Linked DNA regions of Homo sapiens: regions 1 and 2 are each linked to region 3. Evidence: promoter capture Hi-C in human tissues and cell types (Jung and others, 2019). All regions are on one chromosome and are shown on one strand. The core of a region is centred on a gene start or on the middle of the fragment in contact, and the rest is flanking DNA. Distances in the headings are between cores, read along the strand shown.

Region 1 (2,700 bases), core at 119-2,618, 36 kb after region 3:
TTCTAAGTAATTACTCAGGTTTTCCTTTTAGAAACTGGTTCCTTTTAGAAACTGGGTCACCATTATTTAACAAAAGGCAAACAGCGTAAGAAATCTTCCTTCTTATATGTCTTTTTCTAAATTATGGAAAGGCTTATTGAAAGTGATTCACAGGCCAGGCGCGGTGGCTCATGCCTGTAATCCCAGCATTTTGGAAGGCCAAGGCGGGTGGATCACCTGAGGTCAGGAGTTCGAGACCAGCCTGACCAAGACTGTGAAACGCTGTCTCTACTAAAAATACAAAAATTAGCCAGGTGTAGTGGAGCATGTTTGTAATCCCAGCTACTCAGGAGGCTGAGACAGGAGAATCGCTTGAACCTGGGAGGCAAAGGTCACAGTGAGCTGAGATTGCACCATTGCACTCCAGCCTGGGAGACAGACTGAGTCTCCATCTCAAAAAAATAAAAAAAAAGAAAAGAAAAGAAAGTGATTCACTGTGTAGTTTAAAGTTTAAAAGTTTAACCCTTAGAACATGCTTTAAAACACAGAGAAAAGAAATAAAATTATGAAATGAAATGGTATAAATTATAAAGTACCTTTTGAAATCCTTAATGCCGTAATTAAAGAGAAAACATTTTCTTTATGTACAATCTTTTCAAAATATGTAATTAGCAAATTAATACTGCCTCATCTATCTTGGGCTTGTAATTGAGACATCTGACAATTATATCCCCAAAAAATTTATACACTACCAATTCTATGATTATTGCCTTTGAAAATTAACCACTTTTTCTATGAATCACACATACACAGCTTCCAAGTGGAACATTGGTTTATAGTCAGCAAGACAACATCCAGTCCTGGATCTGCCACTTACTGGCTGTGGAGTCTGGCAAGTGACAACTTCTTTCATCTTGACTGCTTCAATTAGTAAAATGTAATCAAGTTCATTATGTCACTAAAATGAGATAATACAGAGCTTGATAAATAGTACTCAGCAAATACTAACTTGAAAATAAAATGATAACTTCTCTTTTATCCTTTCCTTGTTCAGATCAATCCAAAGGCCACTAAGTGGCAAGAGAAATGAATATGGCAAGGATAGGGGGAATCCTGTGGTTACCCAAATCAGAGTGCTAAAGCCCAGGCAAGGTGAGGATGCTGGACTAGTTAGGGGTAATGGAGCTCAAGTAGAGCAAGAAGAACATCAACGAGAGGAGAAGCCTGGTGTGGGATATTGAAGCCCAAGCAGGTAGGGAAAGCATTGCACAGGGAGTGTGGGATGCAGCAGCAATGACAGACTGGTGACATACAGAAGGCTTGATCAAAAATATATCAAGACTTCTCACTATTGGAGAAGGAAGTTTCAAATATAGAAGGAGAGAAAACATGAATGAGCCCTGTGCTGTTAGATTGGAATTGGAGATATCAAAGTGAACCCATGGTTTTCAATAGGGATATAGAAGTATAGGTGTAAAAATGTGCTTATGTATGTATATAAGTATATATATATATTAACTAGCTCTGTCCATTGAAAACAGGAAGTAACAAGCCCTCAGTAACAATGAGCACACCTGGTTCTGACATCTTTTCTGAAGACCATACTCCAAAACAGGATCCAAGTCTCCTTGGAGAAATGGCTGATCCCAAGTCTAGGGCAGGGAAACTATAAGATGAGCCTGGGACATCTTTGCCAGGAAGTAAAGAAGCACTGAAAGACTTATGAGAACATATCAAAAAGACTCTTGAAAGAGTTCTCACTTGGGGCGGTCTGACCCGCAGACCCTGAGCCAGCCATGGATGAATGAAGTACACTGACACACAGATATTCTGCTTTGCCAGTCCAGCTGAGTGTCCAAGCCACTTACAGACTCCCTGGAGAGTACTGTAAACAGTTGTGACTGTGGCCCTGACCAGCTAGTGAGACTCACATTTATTTGGGGAAGATTAATTGACAAAGGCTTGAGTCAACACCACTAGAGGGTAATTGACACTGTGGAATTCCCAAGTAGAAAGCAATTAAGCACCTGCCGTACATCAAAGGTTAGTCTTAAGACCACATGAGTAAACAAGCTAGCTAGATAACTTCCCCACATTCCTTAGTTACTACTTTAACTTATTTAACTAAAGGTAAAGGGACCAGGCCGCCTTCAGCCAGATCTATTACTGATGTTATACAAACTCTCAGGCCTTCCAAGAGAGTTTGTGGCTATTACTATAACTATCTTTAATATTTTTCCCACCAGCCTTATTGAACCCCCACACTGAGCATCAAACTAAATAATGAAAGCAACTGGTTTTAACCTACTGAATAAAATAGGAACCCATGAGTCCACACTGAAATAAATAAATGAATGGACAAATTGAAAGTCTGATGAGGAACAGGATATTTGCATAGTCTCAAAGTACCACCTTACAAAATATTTATTAATTACAAAGGGAAGAAAGAGTAACTTTACAGTGGAGAAGTCTAGCAGACACCAATCAGTGACCAAAGTTAACATCACCAGTAATGAGGTGAATCAAAATTGTCACCATTGCTATGATATTCCTATCAAAGATGCAAACCTAAATCTATTCATAAGAAAACATTAGGTGAACTCAAATTGAGAGCTATTCTACAAAATAATTGGCCTGTAATCTTCAAAAGTGTTAAGGTCATAAAGGCCAAGAAAGACTAGGGAACTGTTCCACATTGAAGAAAACCAAACAGATATGACA
Region 2 (2,700 bases), core at 165-2,664, 50 kb before region 3:
GCAGGATATTGGATTTTTCTATTATTTGTTAGTTGTTAGGAAAATAGATGGAGGAGAGTTAAAGTATTTTGCATACAGAAGATACCTTGTTTTTTAGAGTGATGGTAGGATAATAAGAATGTGTAGCACATGATTTATAATATAAATGAAATTAAAAGGTGAAAAGGGGTTTCTATTCAGAAAGCAGAAGTGAAATATTCTAGAAGAATAATCAAAAATTAGTGATGAGACCCCACTTTTTCATCTCTTTTAAGTTTAGTTTTTACATGAATATTTCTGTTTAACATTCTTGTCTGTCTATTCACCTGATAACACTATATGCTGTACTGTCTTCTGAGATGACCTGTTTCCATCCTTTTTTTGTGAGTTCATCTACTATGTTGGATCATCCATTTGTTCTACTTCTTTACCCTCTTAATTGACTCTTGTGATGACTCTTAAATTGTATCTTTTCTTCTTTTAGACAGGAAGAGTAACCTTCACAACTCCCAGTCATGTATTTTGGGGACAGTTTCCTTCCATCATAAGATACTGAAAGGAGTCACAAGGGATGGTTCATTGTGCTCCATTTTAAAAGTCTGTCAAGGTGATGGTCAGCTGCAGAGATTTCTAGAGAATCAAGACAAACTCTTCAGGCAGGTCACATTTGTTAACAGCAAAACAGTGACTGAGGCATCAGGGCATAAATATAATCCACTGGGGAAAATATTTCAAGAGTGCATAGAAACAGATATATCAATACAGAGATTCCATAAATATGATGCTTTTAAAAAGAACTTAAAACCAAATATTGACCTACCGAGTTGTTATAAGAGCAATTCAAGAAAAAAACCTGATCAGAGTTTTGGAGGTGGAAAATCATCTAGCCAGAGTGAGCCCAATTCTAATCTTGAGAAGATTCACAATGGAGTAATACCTTTTGATGATAATCAGTGTGGAAACGTTTTTAGAAATACACAATCCCTTATTCAATATCAGAATGTGGAAACTAAAGAGAAAAGCTGTGTATGTGTTACATGTGGAAAAGCCTTTGCTAAGAAGTCACAACTCATTGTACATCAAAGAATTCATACTGGAAAGAAACCATATGATTGTGGTGCATGCGGAAAAGCCTTCAGTGAGAAGTTTCATCTTGTTGTACATCAGAGAACTCATACTGGGGAGAAACCTTATGATTGTTCTGAATGTGGAAAAGCCTTCTCTCAGAAATCGTCCCTTATTATACATCAGAGAGTTCACACTGGGGAAAAACCCTATGAATGTAGTGAATGCGGGAAAGCCTTCTCCCAGAAATCACCCCTCATTATACATCAGAGAATACATACTGGGGAAAAACCCTATGAATGTAGAGAGTGTGGGAAGGCCTTTTCCCAGAAGTCACAGCTGATTATACACCACAGAGCTCATACTGGAGAGAAGCCGTATGAGTGTACCGAATGTGGGAAAGCCTTCTGTGAGAAGTCCCACCTCATTATACATAAAAGAATTCACACTGGTGAGAAACCCTACAAATGTGCTCAATGTGAGGAAGCCTTCAGCAGGAAGACAGAACTCATTACACATCAGTTAGTTCATACTGGGGAAAAACCTTATGAATGTACTGAATGTGGAAAGACATTCTCCCGCAAGTCACAGCTCATCATACATCAGAGAACACATACTGGAGAAAAACCCTATAAATGTAGTGAATGTGGCAAAGCCTTCTGCCAGAAGTCACATCTCATTGGACATCAGAGAATTCACACAGGAGAAAAACCTTATATATGTACTGAATGTGGGAAAGCCTTCTCTCAGAAGTCCCACCTTCCGGGACACCAGCGAATTCATACAGGAGAGAAACCTTACATATGTGCTGAATGTGGAAAGGCCTTTTCTCAGAAGTCAGACCTTGTTTTACATCAGAGGATTCATACTGGGGAAAGACCCTATCAATGTGCTATATGTGGGAAGGCCTTCATCCAGAAGTCACAACTAACTGTACACCAGAGAATTCACACAGTGGTAAAATCATAATGAACTGGCCACAGAAAAGCCTTAGTATTAGCTCAAGCCTTAATAATTACTAGAAACCCAATTAATTTGATAAGCTTGGGGACAACATCCCAATAGATAAAAATTTTTAAGGGAATTTGTTTCTAGTTTGGTGATGCCTAACTTTTCCAGCAAAGATGATGGAAAATAGTTATATAAATGAAGAACATTTTTAATATGGCATGTAAAGCTTTTAAAGTTATGAACTCAGTGATCAGCACAGCAAGTTAAGCATACAGAATATTGTCAAGTTGCATATTCCTTATACTACAAAATGATAATCAGCCATTGTGAAACTGCTAATATTAGCTTGTCATAATTATGGCCATAAACTAATTTTTCTATAAAAGACGTGGAAGAAAGCTTAAGTAAACAATAAAATAAAACCTATACACTATTTTAAGAAGGGGCTTGAGCATGACCCCTAAAGCTACATGTAAAGTTCTTGTACAAAAAATGGAATGATAGGTTGATCAGATTCAGTAAAGTTGATCTGTATGCATTTTCCCATCTCAAGCATATAAGTTGACCTGCATCTCTGGAAGGACCTTGAGATTGATGCATTTTGAGCAGGTCTCCCTTTTACTCTTCCCAACTGGGAACTTGGAGCTGAAAAACATTGGCACTGAGGCCAGATGGCCTTGGGTTTAATCCTGGCTCAGTGCCTCA
Region 3 (2,700 bases), core at 92-2,591:
CATTGCACTCCAGCCTGGCAACAGAGCAAGACTCCATCTCAAAACAAACAAAACCCAATGCTTATGGTGTGGCAAAAAGAGGTTAAGGATGCAGCTAATAGAGTGTGAGGGGCACTTGGGACACTCTGTCGTATCTGTGGGCACTGGAGTAAGCTGCGGAAGTAGAAGAGCAGGTGAGTTAGGATGGACAGGGTACACATGAATCATCTGACTTTTAGCATCCCCAGCCCTCAACGAAGACTGCAGCAGACGATCTTGACTGAGTGTTCTTTGATTGTTTTTATTCAAGCAATGTGCACATTTCTTCAGGGAGCAAGAAAGGTAGGGTCCCTGAGGAACGCCCTGAGGCCGGTTGTGCCTCCGAGTCAGCCTCCAAAGCAGGCATGTGGCCATGAGATGGCTTGAAAAGCAGAGAATGAACCAAGTCTCCTGAAAAGCCCAAGAGGTTTTTGTCTTTCCCTCTTTTACTCTATCCTAATATAGGTCTGCTCCTTCACAAGTTTCAGTACATATTTCAAGACCAAAACCAGACAAGTAAAAGTGACCTATATATTTCTCTGCTGAAGATGGCGCCAGAGGACATAAAACATCCAATTCCCATTGCTTACTTGAAGCTGTGATCATCCCTGTTTAACACTTACCTCATCAGGCGGGGGAGCACACGTGCAGAGCAGTACTGAAATGCTGCAATATACGTGAAGTAAGCCACCAGCCTTTGACCCCCGAGCTTCCATTAAGACTGTCATGTTGGGCCCAACTGAAGTGAGGGAGAGGAGGAGACAGCATACTCAAATGCTCTGCTCTTTTTCAAGGCAGTGATTAGACAATTGCTTATCATTGCATTCGCCAAACCTGGCTCTTGCAGGTTCCACAAGGGGCCAGGTATTTGAGACTGATTAAAAGAAGGTGATGTGATTTCCTACTCCTACCGGAATTGGTGGGTTCTTCGTCTCACTGACTTCAAGAATGAAGCCACGGACCCTCGCGGTGAGTGTTACAATTCTTAAAGGCTGCGTGTCCGGAGTTTGTTCCTTCTGATGTTTGGATGTGTTCAGAGTTTCTTCCTTCCGGTGGGTTCGTGGTTTCACTGACTCAGGAGCGAAGCTGCAGACCTTCGAAGTGAGAGTTACAGCTCTTCAGGCGGCGAGTCTGGAGTTGTTCGTTTCTCCCCGGGGGGTTCGTTGTTTCACAGGTTTCAGGAGTGATGCTGCAGACCTTCACGGTGAGTGTTACAGCTCATAAAGGCAGTGTGGACCCAAAGAATGAGCAGCAGCAAGATTTACTGCAAAGTGCAAAAAAACAAAGCTTCCACAGCATGGAAGGGGACCTGAGCAGGTTACCACTGCTGGTTCGGGCAGCCTGCTTTTATTCTCTTATCTGGCCCACCCACATCCTGCTGATTGGTCCATTTTACAGAGAGCCGATTGGTCTGTTTTACAGAGAGCTGATTGGTCCATTTTGACAGGGTGCTGATTGGTGTGTTTACAATCCCTGAGCTAGACACAAAAGTTCTCCACCTCCCCACTAGATTAGCTAGATACAGAGTATAGATTGGTGCATTTGCAAACCTTGAGCTAGACACAGGGTGCTGATTGGTGTGTTTACAAACCTTGAGCTAGATATAGAGTGCCAATTGGTGCATTCACAATCCCTTAGCTAGACATAAAGATTCTCCAAGTCCCCACCAGATTAGCTAGGCTCAGAGTGCTGATTGGTGCATCCACAAACCCTGAGCTAGACACAGGGTGCTGATTGGTGCATTTACAATTCCTGAGCTAGACACAAAAGTTCTCCATGTCCCCACTAGATTAGCTAGATACAGAGGGTCGATTGGTGTGTTCGCAAACCCTGAGCTAGACACAGGGTGCTGATTGGTGTGTTTACAAACCTTGAGCTAGATACAGAGTGCTGATTGGTGTATTTACAATCCCTTAGCTAGACATAAATGTTGTCCAAGTCCCCACCAGACTCAGGAGCCCAGCTGGCTTCACCCAGTGGATCCTGCACCAGGCCGCAGGTGAAGCTGCCTGGCAGTCCCCGGCCATGCGCCTGCACTCTTCAGCCCTTGGGCAGTGGATGGGACTGGGCGCCGTGGAGCAGGGAGCGGCGCTCATAGGGGAGGCTCGGGCTGTGCAGGAGCCCACGGAGTGGGGCAGGGGAGAGAGGCTCAGGCATGGCGGGCTGCAGGTCCCAAGCCCTGCCCTGCGGGGAGGCAGCTAAGGCCGGGGAGAAATCCAGCACAGCAGCTGCTGGCCCAGGTGCTAAGCCCCTCACTGCCAGGGGCCATCGGGGCCGGATGGCTGCTCTGAGCGCGGGCCCGCTGAGCCCACGCCCACCCGGAACTCGTGCTGGCCCGCAAGCGACGCCCGCAGCCCCAGTTGCTGCCCGTGCCTCTCCCTCCACACCTCCCCACAAGCTGAGGGAGCCAGCTCCGGCCTTGGCCAGCCCAGAAAGGGGCTCCCACAGTGCAGCGGCGGGCTGAAGGGCTCCTCAAGTGCCACTAGAGTGGGCGCCAAGGCTGAGGAGGCTCCGAGAGCCAGCGAGGGCTGCGAGGGCTGCCAGCATGCTGTCACCTCTCACTAGCATGGCCTGGCAGGTCTGTTTCACACACTCATTGTGAACACACACAACACTGCACACAGCCACTCATACCTGGTGTGCACACTCACCCATGCCCAGCCATGTTTACTTACCCCCCCA

The links. The method cuts DNA at HindIII sites, captures the fragments that hold promoters and counts their contacts. A contact is called where the count stands out against the background at its distance.
Region 1: a fragment that was not itself captured here is called in contact with the fragment with the promoter of IRGM in region 3 in 1 of the 25 tissues and cell types used here (ovary).
Region 2: a contact is called between a fragment that was not itself captured here and the fragment with the promoter of IRGM in region 3, in 2 of the 25 tissues and cell types used here (H1 embryonic stem cells and aorta).

The regions. Positions count from the first base shown.
Region 1 is chr5:150,808,763-150,811,462 of GRCh38, reverse strand. No RefSeq gene overlaps it. Among named protein-coding and RNA genes, the nearest start is that of SMIM3, 31 kb to the right of the region's middle. The HindIII fragment of the contact is 6,969 bases long and covers 1-2,700 here.
Region 2 is chr5:150,894,737-150,897,436 of GRCh38, reverse strand. ZNF300 (zinc finger protein 300) reads left to right here. Exons shown (of 6, transcript NM_052860.4): 6 at 464-2,700. The coding sequence ends at 2,013. It also overlaps a transcript of IRGM not described here. Among named protein-coding and RNA genes, the nearest start is that of ZNF300, 8.9 kb to the left of the region's middle. The HindIII fragment of the contact is 3,286 bases long and covers 1-2,700 here.
Region 3 is chr5:150,845,162-150,847,861 of GRCh38, reverse strand. It overlaps IRGM (immunity related GTPase M), which reads right to left and starts at 1,341. Exons shown (of 2, transcript NM_001145805.2): 1 at 642-1,341; 2 at 1-153. RefSeq lists a silencer at 461-755. The HindIII fragment of the contact is 10,169 bases long and covers 1-2,700 here.